Regions from separate parts of the Homo sapiens genome. Here region 2 is linked to region 1. Evidence: promoter capture Hi-C in 16 types of primary human blood cells and fetal thymus (Javierre and others, 2016). All regions are on one chromosome and are shown on one strand. The core of a region is centred on a gene start or on the middle of the fragment in contact, and the rest is flanking DNA. Distances in the headings are between cores, read along the strand shown. Region 1 holds the start of ZYX (zyxin). Region 2 has its middle 26 kb from the start of OR9A2.

Evidence for each region. The method cuts DNA at HindIII sites, captures the fragments that hold promoters and counts their contacts. A CHiCAGO score of 5 or more calls a contact.
Region 2: a contact is called between a fragment that was not itself captured here and the fragment with the promoter of ZYX in region 1, in 4 of 17 cell types (neutrophils, monocytes, naive CD8 T cells and 1 more). The highest score is 7.9, in neutrophils.

What each region holds. Positions count from the first base shown.
Region 1 is chr7:143,375,928-143,383,756 of GRCh38, reverse strand. ZYX (zyxin) reads right to left here and starts at 2,412. Exons shown (of 10, transcript NM_003461.5): 1 at 2,348-2,412; 2 at 1,978-2,200; 3 at 1,310-1,509; 4 at 1,072-1,164; 5 at 435-956. The coding sequence starts at 2,185. FAM131B-AS2 (FAM131B antisense RNA 2) reads left to right here and starts at 2,732. Exons shown (of 2, transcript NR_161353.1): 1 at 2,732-3,491; 2 at 3,648-4,602. MIR6892 (microRNA 6892) reads right to left here and starts at 1,071; the gene lies at 957-1,071. It also overlaps a transcript of FAM131B not described here. RefSeq lists silencers at 1,893-1,942, 1,973-3,002 and enhancers at 3,503-3,592, 2,716-3,616, 3,773-3,852. The HindIII fragment of the contact is 8,995 bases long and covers 1-7,829 here.
Region 2 is chr7:142,996,911-143,004,739 of GRCh38, reverse strand. No RefSeq gene overlaps it. Among named protein-coding and RNA genes, the nearest start is that of OR9A2, 26 kb to the left of the region's middle. The HindIII fragment of the contact is 776 bases long and covers 2,221-2,996 here.

The sequences.
Region 1 (7,829 bases), core at 1,163-3,662:
GTTTACTGGGGCTGTCTCTTACCTCCAAGCCCTCAGGCAGAAAGAGTGCTCAGAGGAGCAGGGAGATTAACTCAAGACCCAAGAATGGGAAAAACCAAGGTGGAACTGGTGATCTCATCCCTCCCTTTAACTTTCTGGGGTAAAGGCACAAGGAAAGGTCCACCAGATCCTCCTAATTCAGAGCCCATGCTCTCTGCGCCGTCCCAGCCAGGCCCCACCCAGCCCCACACCCAGCCAGGCCTCTCCTCCAGAGGAGCATTTTCCTACCATTGTTCCACCAGGCTAACCCCAGAGGATGAAAATTCCTATCCCGCCACCCCGCAACCCCCGTGTCCACCCTGACTCTCCAATCACCTTATGCTTATGCTCTGGCTCCTGACCCAGCCCCGCCCCAGTGCCCTGGTACCAAGCCTTGTCCTATCACCATCCCTCACCTGGTTTTGGTTCTGAGCCGGTGGGGGCACGGGGTGCTGCTTCTCCTGCACTCGGGGCTTCTCCCTCTGCTGGGCATAGGTGAAGCTGGGAGGTTGAGGGGAGCCTGTGCCAGCAGAAAGAGCTTCGGGGTGCCCCAATTTTTGATTTGGTTGTGACCCAGATCCACCTGGGGCTCCAGGACTGAACTTGGAAGCCACAGGAGTAAACTTAGGAGTCACTGGAGAAAACTTAGGGGCTGGAGCCGGAGATGAGGCTGGGGGCCCTCGGGGCTGGGTGTTAGCCAAAGACACAGGCTGGGTCTGGGACTGGACATGGAGTTGGACCTGAGGCTTGGGCTGGGGCTGGGGCTGAACATGGAACTGTGTCTGGCTCTGAGCCGGAGCCGGAACCTGGGGCAGAGGCTGGGAGCTGGAAGGGGACTTCCAAGGAGGCAGGGGTGCTGTGCCCCCGGCTGCAGGCTTGGTACTGGACTTGGAACTGAATGGAGTGGCCACTGGTGGGGGCACATATCCAGATGACACCTGCAAGGGGTGGGAGAGGGAAGAGAGATGCAGTCAGGAGGACACCATCCTCCTTAGTTCTATGCCCAGTCTCTCTGGCCCTGAGCCCTGCTTTTCCTACTCTCCGGTCCCTTACCCGGGCTTTGAAAGGATCATTCTTGGTCATGTCATCCAGCAGTGAGGACAGAGAGTCGATCTCCAAATCAATACTGCTCACCTTCTCCCTGGGCTAGAGGGTCAGAGGTCAGAGCACCTATTCCATGCCTCTATCCCCCCACCCCCAAGGCAGAGGTGCAGGGGAGGTAAGAAGAAAGGGCCCTCTTCTCCTCTCCTTGGGGGTGTCCAGTGCAGCCGCCCCTCCCAGGCCTCCGTACCTGTGGTGGGGGCGGTATGGGGGCCTCAGGCCCTCCCTCCTCCTCCGGAGGAGGCGGCGGGGAAGGGAAGATCTCCTCCTCCAGAGGCGCAGGGGGAAATGATTCCTCGATCGGGGGAGGGGGCGGCGGGAAGGCACCTCCCAGAGCACCCTCTGCATCGTCGCCATCCCCAGCAAGGGGAGGTGGAGGCAGGGGAAAGTCTGGGGTAGGAAGGAGAAAGACGTCGGCCGGGGTCCCTCTACCCCTCACCCAAGCTCCCCTCAGTTAACCGCTCTAACCCCTAACCCAAGAACTCTCTCAGGGGTCCCAGAGCGTGTGGGGAAGCAAAGGAGGGGCGCAGGGCGCCCTGGGAGTACCAGGTCAGGAAAGGCCGGGCGCACTGCCGAGGAGTGGTGCAGCTCCCGTTACACTTCGGAAAACGGACCCGGAGGGGAAGATTCGTGCCCCACATTCCCGACTCCCACTCCCAGGCGGGGGACTTGGAACGGTCCCAGGAGCCCTGGCTCCCAGCCACGAGCTCCACGATGAGGTAAGAACATCTGCTCGGGACAGGGTGGCTGCGCCCAGCCCCCTCGGCAACAACCTTTCCAGACATCCCCAAATTCCCGAAACGACTGCCCCCCACCCCGGCTCCTGCCGGGGTACATTCCCCAAGCCCCGCCGCATACCTTCCGGGGGCGGCGGGGGAATCTCGCCCACCCGGCCCATCTGTGCGCGCTGGGCCCCGGGTGCCGGGGGAGGCTCGCTGTCCCCGGGCCGGAAGGGATTCACTTTGGGCTTTGGGGCCACCACAGGGCCGAACTTCTTCTGCGGGGCGTAAAAAGCCGGAGCCGAGACCGAAACGGAGATCGCGGGAGACGGGCGGGGGGCCGCCATGGCCGGGCCGGGCTGCTGGGGTGGGTCGCCGGGTTACGCAGCGCGGAGCCGGGCTCAGGAGCCCCAGGCGGTCCCAGCTCCCCTTGGTGACCCCCACTCGCCCCCTCCCGGCGCCCCGCGCCCCCTCCCCGTGGGGCCGCCCTGCCGCTCCCCGCGCCTCACCGCAGGCCGGAGCGTGCGCGCCGCGTCTCGGGTGGCCGCCTCGGCGCCGGGTCCGCAGACTCTGCGTCCCGGTCCGGAGCAGCCTCCAGCCGGGCGGGGAGGGACACACGGAAGGAGGAGGGAGGGAGAAGAGAGGGGGCGGGGAGAGAGCGGCGCCCAGACCATACAAGGAGCGGCCCGGAGAGGGGGCGGGGAGAGCGGGGAAGGGCGGACCAGGCAGGAAACTCCCCCAGGAAGGGGCCCTGATCCTGCCTCAGGCCGGAGGCTCCGCCGAGGTCCGCTCGCCCCCACCCCACTCACTGCCGCCCCCGCCGCCCCAGCCCGGCTCAGACCCCCACTCCCTGAGCACAGGCCTCTGATGTCATTTCCTGACCTGCCTCCCCCTCCCCGCCCGACCCGCGGGTGCCCGAGATCTGACTCACCGTCCCCCTCCGGGCTTAGCCGGCGGAGGTGGGGCGGGTGCCGCCGAGGTAGCCACGCAGCCCCTGTGCGCCTCCGGCCCGGCCCAGCGACCTCCTCTCGGGCCTGCCGTTACCCGGTCCCCTCCTGCCACCACCCGCTACCCGGCCACCCCGAGTCCGCCTGGGGTGGCCGAACGTATGGAGCTGGGCTCCAGGGTGCACGGGGATGGGGGGTGAGGAGCGGGGCGTTCTCCCTCCCAGCACCCCCCAGCTGACTCTGTGCCCGGAGGGGGTGTGTGAGCCGGAACCTCCAGCATTCTTGGGGATACGAACTTCCAACGCTGGGCAGCCTCTTAAGGCTTCTAGGAATTCGCATCCCCAGCGCCCCAGCCAGCAGATCGGTTGCGAGAGGGACCGTTCGGGTCCGCGGGGCCGGGAATGGAGGTGGGAGGGCGGGGCCGAGGCGGCGGCCGCCTGCGGACTGGAGACCCGGGAGGACGGACGCGGACGCGGGCTGCTCGTCTTTTACGGCCCTTCAACGCCCACCACGACCCACTCCTCTTGGAGACCCCGGGCGACGGTGGGGCTCTTGGGCATTCTGAGACTGCGCTTGGTGGAGACCCCGGGCGACGGTGGAGCTCTTGGGCATTCTGAGACTGCGCTTGGTGGAGCCCCCTACTGGCCAGACTGGATTTCTCAGCCTGCGACTCAGCCCCAGGCTACACGAAAGAAGCCAGACCTGGGTAATTCTTCTAGTTCTTTTTTTTTTTTTTTTTAATTGCACTGGGAAACTTCCCCAATCTCGGCCCCAGTTCTTTCTCCAAACTAAGGAGTCATGGCCTTTCGCCCGCTAGTCCAGTATGCACCCGTAGGCGCTTCATTTTCTCTCCTCTTGTCAGCTTTTACTGCCTCCTGAGGCCTTCGTCTTGTTCACACTGAGTGTCCAGTCCCTCCAAATCCGGCTACACTCTACTGGCAAGGAGCACCTGGGCCATGTTTTAGAGATCATCCGAGGACTAACCCCAAAAGTTTATGAAGAGAAAGCAGAGGCCGAGCTGAAGAGATGGACCCGGGTCACACCCAGGTAAAGGCAGGATCTAAACTGAAACTGGTGTCAGATCTGGTTGCCTTGCACCCCTGATATCAGGTGAAGCAACACTGGGCAGGATAGAGCAGAGTGAGGTCAGAGTGTGAAGATCCAGCCTGATGCCCAAACTGACGCCTCTTCATTCTCCCCTGCTCCATCTGTAAACGTCACGGTTAATCCATCTACTTTATTGCATTATATAGAGAAATAAATGAAATGTCATAGCTGTATGCGCTATATGACTCAGTATTATTATTCAAATTCCAGTTCTGCCCAGAATGAAAATTCTGACCTGGTTACACTAAGGCGTTTTCCCCCATATGTCCCTTTCTGGGTTGCCAGGCAGATCTCTCAGGGGCCTCGGTATGTGCAATGTCCTCTCTTTCCTTCAACCTTATTAAGTCTTTAATTATACCTAGGACGACATCTTAATCACTTTTGCAAACCCCACTGATCTTTTTCTCTGGCATCTCATTGTCTTTGTCACCACCAGTATTTCTCACAGCCACAGGCATGTGTGGCCATGTATGATGGGTAGTACGCAGTGCACACCTCTCTGACACGCTCAAGCCAGCCCTGGGCCTGTCTCTGAAGACATGTTAGAAATTTGATACTGGATTTCCTGTGCATGTTGGAGATTGTGTCTTGGGCTTCACAGACCAAAAGTCTCATCACAAATCCTTCAAAATATGGCCCCTTTGGGGAAAAAAAGATAGTTAAGAAGATGATTTCAAGATAACTCATAGGAATAAAAGCTATCTACCCTCTAAATGTCTCCTTAAGTAATGTGCGCGTGCAAAATAGAGTATGTGTAATTGTTAGGCAGCTGAACCTATTTTTAAATCAGAAATAGAAGAGTGCGTAGGCAGGCATAGTTTTACTGACAACTAAGAGCATTCAGAATGCGGAATATTCAAACAAAGACTTTTAAGCCAGCCATTCTAAATACAAGTAGAAACACCCAGAGTATCCCAGAAGAACAGAATCACTGCCCAAGATGTCTCAAGAGGAGCAGCAGAGTCAGTGCTCTTAAAATGAAGACAATGGGCTGGGCGCAGTGGCTCACGCCTGTAATCCCAGCACTTTGGAGGCCAAGGCAGGCAGATCACTTGAGGTCGGAAGTTTGAGACAAGCCTGACCAACGTGGTGAAACCCAGTCTCTACTAAAAATACAAAAATTAGCCTGGTGAGGTGGCGGGAGCGTGTAGTCCCAGCTACTGGGGAGGCTGAAGCAGGAGAAGAATCGCTTGAACCCAGGAGGCGGAAGTTGCAGTGAGCCAAGATCACGCCACTGCACTCCAGCCTGGGCAACAGAGTGAGACTCCATCTCAAAAAAAAAAAAAAAAAAAATGCAGGAAATGAACAAGAGTGGCCTTAACGATTGCTGGGCATTTTTCTTAAGTAAGCAATTCTAATTGATATCCTTAGGCAGTATGTGTGAAGTACAGCAAATAAGAAGATGTTCCTGACTAAAGAATGCCCAACAGCTTAAGACCAGGCCAGGGAGACAAAGTGAGAAAATGGCCACTGCCCTTTACTACCTAAAACATCTTCACGCGCCTCCAAGGATTTATAACCATCAGGTACCAGAAAGTTTTCTTCAAGAGTGCACAGCATAAAGTAGGAAGTTAAGAGCAGTCAGGGAAGGAAAATGAAAAGACAGTGTCACAACAAAAGAATGATTTCTAAAATGGAAAGAGAAATGTGACCAGGAGGTTCTTTCCATATGCCAACTGCAGATGGATAGAGGTTCACTCACGGGCCAGGGACCACGTGAAGCATTCTGAAAACAGCAACAATAGCAGCACCCTAATAACATCAACAACTATAATAGCAGCACACGCTGAGAGAATGCTTAGAATATTGTTTGAGGTGCAATGCTAAGCACTTTAAATATATTAGCCCTGGCCAGGCACAGTGGCTCACGCCTGTAATCCCAGCACTTTGGGAGGCCAAGGTGGGTGGATCACCTGAGGTCAGGAGTTCAAGACCAACCTGGCCAAGATATAGTGAAACCCCATCTCTACTAAAAATACAAAAATTAGCTGGGCGTGGTGGCACGTGCCTGTAGTCTCAGCTACTCAGGAGGCTAAGATGGGAGAATCACTTGAACCTGGGAGGCGGAGGTTGCAGTGAGCCAAAATCGCACCACTGCATACCAGCCTGGGTGACAGATCGAGACTCTGTCCAAAAAACAAACAAACATATATGTATGTTTGTTTATATATATATTCGCCCCTTCTAATCATCACTATAAACCTGTGAGGAATATACATCATTATCCCATTTTTTAGTTAAGGAAACTGAGGCTAACTGGATGTTGGATTTCTCACCTCCTAAACTGCAAAATTTTTTTGCAACACAAATATTAAGACTCTCCTGCCCCATCCTTGCTTCCATCCTTGTATTCCATCACTTCTCCTCAGGCCCTCCTACCTGGTCCATCAACAGCCCCTTTCAAGTCTGCCTTCACCCCAACACCCCTACTTTATACCTGTGGGCTACCATTTTCTCTTTCTGTCTCATGACACCATCAAATTCTGTCTGTTTATATATCTATCTGCATGTGAACACATACACACATTTTGTATATGCAAGCTATATGTATACGTGCTTTTGTAAAATAGCACATTTCCAGAAGATGTCAAGAATTGTTAACAGCACAGCCAGGCGCAGTGGCTCATGCCTGTAATCTCACCACCTTGGGAGGCTGAGGTGGGAGGATCACTTGAGGCCGGGAGTTCAAGACTAGGCATGGCCAACATGGAGAAACCCCGTCTCTAGAAAAAATACAAACATAAGCCGGGTTGGTGGTGTGCGCCTGTAATCCCAGCTACGAGAATTGCTTGAACCAGGAGGTGGAGGTTGCAGTGAGCCGAGATCGAGATCGTGCCACTGCACTCCATCCTGGGCGAGGAATGCGACTGTGTGTCAAAAAAATAAACAAATAAAAAAGAATTGTTAACAGTAGTTAATGTTAGGGAGTAGATTGAGGAGGACAGAAGGCTTTTATACTTTTGTATTTTGTCCCTGTGAACATGTATTACTTTATAATCTGAAAAAAGAAAGGAGAGAAATGAAAGAGCCGTTGTATCTTTTTCCTGATATTGGAGCACCTCCCTTGCGCTGAGTACTGTGTGCACTCGGCCTGCAGCTTCCCACTTGCTCCCAGATTTACTGCCCCTCTCATCCCACTGGCCTGCATGCCAGTACAAAAGAATCTCTCCCTGAGGGAACTGCAGACACGGTGGATGATGAACCATGGATGGGTTGGGCGCGCATCAGGATGAGGTCTGGGTGAAGCACACAGCAAGACCCAGAGACCTTTGCAGTCAAGGCCAAGGTTGAGCAGCCTCCTGCCCTGTCCAAGGGCCACTCCCCCAAGAGAGGGGTGGGACTGACAACCACAAATGCCCACGTTTCCTTCTTTCTTCAGGGTCAGCCCAGGAAGCTGACATCAGAGCATCATCCCCTATACACTTTCCCTCCCATTCCCAACCTCAGTTCAGCCAACATTTACCAGTTAATTTCTATATTCTAGGCACTCTGGATATAAAGAAAAATAAACTCAGTTCTTGCCCTCAAGAAACTCTCCATCTGGGGGGAAAATACTTAAGTAGATAGTTTTAGTATAATAAGTGTTAAGATTAGAAAAAAAAATTTTCTAATCACCCACCCAATAGAGCTGGCTTGGTGTGGCTACTAATTACAATACCTGGGTGGCCTTCTCACCATGTAACCTCATTATTATCCCACCGGATCAGAAGCAGCAGTGAGGATTCCAGGACCAGGGAACCAGAATCTACATAAGGCATCCAGGGAGCAGAGGTCAGAGAAGCAGGAGAAGGCAGGAGTCCCCTCATCCCAAGGGCTGGGCCAGATGGGCACCCAAAGGCACTGCAAGCATCAGCAGCCAGAAATGTGTGGTGGGTGGAAGGGGCAGAGCGAGGCAGATGGTCAGATGGCGAGGAGTCAGCAACCAAGGGAGCTGAGA
Region 2 (7,829 bases), core at 1,359-3,858, 380 kb after region 1:
TCATTTGAGGAGGTACCACTTTTGGGCCAGGAACCTTCACCAAGGTTCATCATTCCCATGGCATCCACGTGGCCCCTTTTGCCCTATCAATGATAGGAATACCAGCTTGCTATCATAACTTCCCACTAATAAGGCAAGAGGACTCTTTGCTCTCTCAGACTCTGAAGGTAGGTGTTCATTGCTGTAACAGTGAAACAGCAAGAGAACTAACATAACTAACTCCATTTTTGTTTCAGGGACCTTTACCCATGCCTGCATGTAGGCTAGGATAATTTTAGAGCACTGAGATATTACGCAAAAACGGCAATCATGTAGTTTTAAAAACTAACTCTGGGATTAAAGGAGACTTATGTAAACAATTGCATGAAGTTTTGTTAAAGATTTATAGGAGCATCATGACCTGACCGAAGACAAGAAAGTTCCCCGCCTCCTCAGACCCTCGCTGGTGCCCGGATGTCTGAGGTCATTGGTCACCTCTCCATCCCAACCCCCTCCTCCTCCTCCAGCATTAACATAAAAAGGGTACAATTTGTACCGACTTAAGATGGTACTTTAAGATGCAATTCCATCATCGTCTCGGTTTGCTGGCTCTCCGAATGAACATGCTTTTCCTCCCACCAATTCGTGTCTCATGCTGGGCTTTTGAGCAGTGAGCAGCTGAACCTGGGTTTGGCTACATTGCTTCCTGAGTTTCTCTCACCATGTCACTCCCCTAGGGGCACCAGGGTGGGTCTTCTGGGACTTTGTGTTCAACCAGGAAGTGGCTAAGAAACAGACCTAACTTCTATAGGATAAGTAAAGGACCTAAGCCTCTTGGAGACGGCCTTTCCTTGCCTAGGGCATGTGGGAGAAGGAGCTATAAAACTCTACTCCCGTGAATTTCCTCCCTCTAGTAAACACTCTTTTTCTTTATAGCATGGGTTGCTGGTGAAACAAAGGCCAATGGATTGTCATGGCATTTTTAATGTCTTACAGATCTGTGTCTGGCACTTCTTTAAATTATTTTGGTACTAAATGCCTATTTCTTGTGGCCTTGAAATTCTATGACATATGAAAATGTTAATTTTCATATGTCATTATAGAGGCAACCACAAGAGGGCAATATTTCAGCAGCCGAAACAAAACCCTAGGAGAAGATGGCTGCCTTCCTCGGAGTACACCGATGTTGCTCAGATGCCTTTGGTCTACCTAGGTTGAAAGCTAGATAGAAAGTTCAGAATTGGGACAAGGTAAAGGGTCACATCAGGAAAATGCAAAGACGGGAAGGTGTAGCAAGACAGCAGCACACCAGTCTGGCAGACAGACAAAGACTAGAAAATTTGGGAAGAAATCTGCAATTGAGAAATGGGAAGTAAAGCACTCTTTTCTCACCTCTACTCTTACCCTACAAACCTGCTCCAGGCTATTCCACTCTGTGGTAGGCTGAGTCTTCCAAGAAGGAGACACCCAGCAGGATCAGAAGTCTGAGCAATTTCTTTGGGAAAATACAGAGGGAGAAGAAGGAAGAAGCCTGGCATTGGGAAGGCAGCGAGAGCCATCAGATAGTGATGGGGGCGTGAGCATTATGAAGGAGAGAGTCAAGGTGGGAAGACTGAGTGGAAGAGTCTGCGATTGCAGTGCAGCTCTAACAAAGTCCAACAAGTGCACCGAGTTCTTCTTGAGTTTACATTGCTTACCTGAGTGGCTCCCTGCCAGCCACAGTCATTAGCTAGGAGCAGTCTGTGGGAAGCATGACCTAACTAAGACATGAGAAGGATTTTGGAGCATAGCAGCTAGGGCTGCCAGTCAGCTATGCTCCCTGTCGTTAGAGATGTGAGAGGGGCATTTGCAGGGCCACTGCACACCCTAAACAATGAGTGAATGAATGAACGAATGCCCTTTTCTTATCCTTGTTTAACCATTACGTTACCATCCAATCTTATATCTCCTTTCCTGCAAAGCTTTTGAAATACAAGTACATACCCACTGTTATTATTTCCATACTTCCCATGCATTTTTTTTTAATCCGCAGCAAGTTGGATTCTCCTTGCCACTGTCCACTGAAACTGTTCCAGCCAAGCTGATCAGTTTTCACATGCAAACTGACTTCCCATTTATTTGCCCTGTTTCCAAGGACTGCATGAATTTGGAGCTCAGAAATAAAGTCAATTGGGGAAGATAATGGTGGATAAGAGATATTTGAACAGCCAAAAATGTGAGAGAAGGAAGGGAGATAAAGCTTTGAATATTTTATAAAAGAGGAGGAAGAAAAGAAGAATACTGAGAGGTTAAAGAAAGTGTGGACTTTAAAAACAACTTCTGGGATATTGAAAAATCTTTTCAAACAGGCGAATCAGGCAAACCCAGGGACTTTGTGATCATATGAAATCGAAGTGAAAAAAATAACCAATCAAATCTTCCATCTTCTGGCTAACTTCAGATTTGCCAGAAGAGGTCAGCAAAGACATTAACATCAGTCTTTGCCCTCCCTCGAGGCAGGATGGTGGGTTAGAAAGTGCTTTCTGCCACTTTGCTTAGAATTTATGCAGGGCTTCCATTATCCATACCCCTATCTTTTTTAGGCCCTCTTTCCAGAGTTTAACAGCTGCCTGAGCTCCTGGTGAGAGGATGGACCAATCTAAAATAAATAATAACACACATACCCTTTGTCTTATGTAATGACAGATCTTCAATTTAAATTTATGTACTGCATCTCTATGTAAACTAATTAAAATTTCTGGCATGTTAGCCTATGCAATTAGACAAGAGAAAAAAAATGCAGGGCCAAGATGTTAAAAAGGAGGAGAAAAAAAGATTAACATGAATTTTAAATAATTTGTTTATCTGGAAATCTCAACAAAATAAAGTAAAAAACCAATGTGGCTGGGCACAAAATTTATATTGAGAGTCAAAAGACTTCACATATAAAACACATTAAGTTAGAAAATATAATGGAAGGAAAGAACCTCATTTACAAAAGCAAAAGCAAAGAAATATAACATTATTAGGAATAAGCTTAACAAGTAAAGATTTACATTTAAACTAGATTGACATTTAAAAAAATGCTCCTGAAAGACACAAAAGTAGATTTGAGCAAATGGAAAGGTGGAGTAAACAATACAAAGATATCAATTCTCCTCTAAGTGTATCCATAAAAATGATACAATCACAATTTAAAAATCAATAGTATTTTTTAAATCTAGAGAAGCAGATTACATTTTATTCATGCATTATTTCATTCATTTATATTTTTAGAGACAGAGTCTTGCTCTGTCAGCCAGGCTGGAGTGTAGTGGCATGATCATAGCTCACTACAGACTTGAACTGCTGGACTCAAGTGATCCTCCCACCTCAGCCGCCTGAATAGCTGGGATTACACATGTGAGCCATCGTGCCCAGCTTAGATTAAACTTTTTATTATGGAAAAATAAACAAGCAAAAAATTTTCAAAAACATTCTGAAATAGAAGCATAATGAGGAATAACTACATCTGTAAAACAGACTATATAGCTATAATGTAAACAGTACTATCATTGGGAAAAAATGAATTATTCAATAAATGGTCAAACAAACTAGCAGCTACCTAAAAAACAAAAGTTAATTCCATTACTGCCTATGTCATACCAGGCTGTTTAAAATGGGTCAAATATTTAAATGTAAAAAAAAAACATAGATTTAACATAAGAAATAAAAGAATGTTTATAAAAATGGGTAAGACCTTTCTTAGGATGACTTAAAACACAGATGTCATAGAAGATTGACTTTATGAAGAATTTTTTAAAAATTTGCTATGGTTAATACTACCCCAAGGTAAACAGACACACGAAAACACCAGAAAACAATTTCAACTCATATCACAAAAGGTTAGTTTGCATCATGTGTAAAAAGCTCCTATAAGAAAAAAATAAAACTACTCAGCAGAAAAATGGGCAAAAGATAAGCACATGTGAGAATATTTTCATCTTCATTCATAAGGAGAACAATAAAAATTAAAGCCATATTAAGATACTATTTTCAGTTATTAAACTGGCAAATGTCAAAAAGTTTTATAGTACACTGCGTGAAAATAGGTAGTGTAAAATGTAATAGCCTGCATGAAGGGCAATTATGTAATATATATTAAAGTGACAAATGCTTTTACGCTTTGGCCTAGCAATTCCTCTTCTAGAAATTGTCATTTAGATATTGTGTACAGGGAAATAATGTATGTATTCCATTTGGTGGAATAATCTGGAGTTATTAAAAAAGGAAACAAGAACCAAGAATGTCTTATGTATAAATATACAATGATCTGTACTGCATAGGACATATGTTCGATATACTACCATTTGTACAAAAAGAAAATGTGCTTGTATGCATTTGCTTATGCAGACGTATATGCTTAAAATTACCTCTGTAAAGACACAGAAGAAAGTGATAACATTGGTTGCCTTGAGGGAGGAGGATCAGATAGAAAAGTGTTTCAAAGTATCCTTTAAAATTTTGAACCATGGAAGTATATTATGCTTTGATGCTTTAATATTTGAATATAGTTATATCTTCTTTTGATATTCTGGCACTTTTAAAAACATCTGTATTTGGGGTACTATATGATCCTGATTCTCTAAGTGTTATAATTAACATATATATCTTATTAATCCAAAACTCAACTATGTAGTCTTTCTAGAACATAGCTAGGAATCAGAAAATAGCAAAATAAACCAGCAAGCAGACAAAATAAATGTTACAAAGTCCATGAACCACATAAAGCTTAGCCACTTTACTCACAGGAAGTCTGTTAGAGTCCCTTTTATCTGTTTGTTTATTTATTGGAAATAAGCTTGATAAAATGATTTACTCATAGAAAGGAGATAAGAAAAGACAGGTCTACTGAAAACAACAAGCAGTGTGTTAGCTCTCAATCAAGAGACATGTTGAGAGAAATTAAAAACCAACTGTACAAAGCTGACCAAAGGACTTAAGACATTTTTGTTCATTTAGTGCAGGAGCAAACCTTCTCTGAGATCATGTATATATGACAGTGGCATCCTAATGATCGTCTTGAGAAACCAAGAAGACATTCAGGTATGCTCAATAGAATCTATTAAGACTGATTTTCATGCCTAACATTTAAATAAAATATAAAAACTTTTGATGATTAAGTCTAAAACTTAGAGTCTCTGGAAAATGGAATAACACATTTCAGGTTGGTGGTGTTTTGGAGTATATTTTTAAATGCTTAACTGAAGATATCACCAAATGCCAGAGTAATTGGTCAGAGATTTCTTTTTCTATTGAACACAAATGAAAACATCAGTATCAAAAATTGGCAGTAGATATGCAAAAAGGGAGTCAGGAAAATTATTCTTGTACAAGAAAACAACTTTATAAGAGCTCAGGAGAAACTTCTAACTTTTCTACAGTGGAATGACTCCAACAATCACAGTCAAAATTTAAAGAATGGGTAATATGTTTTAGCAAATAAATGAGAGGAATTGTAGCAGTCATTAATCTAGGACAGGTTAGAATAAAAGAGGTGGTAACATAATGATTAACCATTTAACAGAGTGATTAGGACTATTGCTGGCATACTCTTTGACCCAGCTATCCATTTCCAGGAATTGTTTTTCTAAATGTACTTACACGAGGATGCGAGGGTGCGGAGATATGTACAAAAGGACACATACACCCTTGTTGGAAACACATATATCCCTTGTTGGAAACATATATATCTTTTGCTTTAAAATAATTCAACTTGGCTGGGTGCAGTGGCTCACGCCTATAATTCCAGCAGTTTGGGAGGCCGAGGCGGAAGGAATGCTTATGCTCAGGAGTTTAAAGCCAGCCTGGACAACATAGGAAGACCTCATCTCTACAAATAATTTTAAAAATTGGCTGGGCTTGGTGGCGGGCACCTGTAGTCCCAGCTACTCAGGAGGCTGAGGTGGGAGGATCGACCCTGGGAGGTCAAGGTTTCAGTGAAGTGTGATCACACCACTGCACTCCAGCTTGAACAACTAAGTAAGACTTTGTCTCAAAAAAATAAAAATAAATAAAATAAAAGAATGCAACTGGAAGCAGCTTAAGTGTCTAAGGAAAGGGAACTGATTAAATAAATTCTGTTGTATTTATTAAATGGAATACTTACTACGTAACCATTAAATAGAAGTGGGGAATACTATATATATTGATATATAAAATTGACTACTTTAAAATAAATAAAAAGAAAGCTATAGAATACCATACAAGGTATCATATATTTTGTTTAAAAACATTTCTGTGTGTGTGTGTGTGTGTGTCTGTGTGTCTTAGGATATGATTAGGAAAAGGGTTAGAAAGATACCCATTGACCTGTTATATCACTTGGCTGAAGATATGGGGTGAATGGACAACGGGCCAGAAATGTTCACATTACTTTATGCATAGCTGTAGTTCTTGATTTTGTAAAGTTATTTTTAAAGTGTCTATAAAGAAGATTATTGTTGTTAACCTTGAAAAGTTAATTGATGGGATAGACTAGGAAATCAAACCCAAACTATAATTGGATTAAAATAAAGCATTAAAAATGACAAAACTTGAGAATGGTGTATAATAATCTGTCTTGGATATAAAGAGAATTTCTGAATAGGTGGTGTCAAATGATTAAAAGTTATTATAATGAATAGGAATTGTTTTATCTGCCTAGAATGCCTTCCTCCTTTCTCTGAGGGAGCAACTTTTTCCCTTGGGAAATGCTCCTTTCACCTTTGCAAACATTTGGCTTAAGAATATGTGATTTTCCTTCCCAGTCTATGCACCTGACCACAAGTGATGATAGGCCTGAAGGTGCACACATAACTCAAACTGGGCCAACCATTTAGACACCACTTCACCCCAGTGATAAGAGGTGGTGTTGGTGTCTACCTGACTCAAGCAAGACCAATCACAGCTCTCCCTCAGCATATGCCAAACTGGACTTGGAGGAGAAGGAGTGTCATTCCTTTGTTGATATTGGGACTCAAAGGTGCATTCCTAGAGCACCCACGTGGAGGAAGCCAGGTTGCAGAAGAGATAATGGAGCCAGTGTTAGAAAGAAGCTATGATAAGGAGTTGAGGGCAAAATAGTCCAGCTATACCACTGCTCCTCTTCCTTTCTTGTGGTTACATAGGAAAAAAATTATCTTCTTGACTAAATTAGTTCGGGTTGGGTATCAGACGTTCACATCCAGAAACATACTGACCAATAATAGAAAAAAAAAAACTGGTAAACAAGCCAACACAGTTACTTGCTTCCACCTTTTATTTCAATGCAATGTAATGATGATACGTGAATCTAAAAATAAACTGATAATATTCAAAATATTGCAGACTACAACCTTTATTCTTTTTTTTTTTTTCTTTTTGAGACAGAGTTTTGCTCTTGTTGCCCAGGCTGGAGTGCAGTGGCGCGATCTCGGCTCGTTCCAACCTCTGCCTACCGGGTTCAAGCGAGTCTCCCACCTCATTCTCCTGAGTAGTTGGGACTACCATTGCCTGCCACCATGCCCAGCTAATTTTTGTATTTTTTTTAGTAGAGATGGGATTTCACCATATTAACCAGGCTGGTTTCAAACTCCTGACCTCAAATGATCCACCCACCTCGGCCTCCCAAAGTGTTGGGATTACAGGCATGAGCCACCGTGCCTAGCCTAGGATGACTACAACTTTTAGAACCTATATCATAAAATCCTTGAAGAGGACAATATTTGTAAGTTATTGAAGAAAACCTACTCCCCCAAAGACCATTTTTTCTGGTTAGGTGATCATTTATTTGGAAACAAAACAAAAAGTAGAAAAATTACTCACAGATTCAAAGGCCAGAGAGAGATTTGCTGACCACATTTATTATCTCT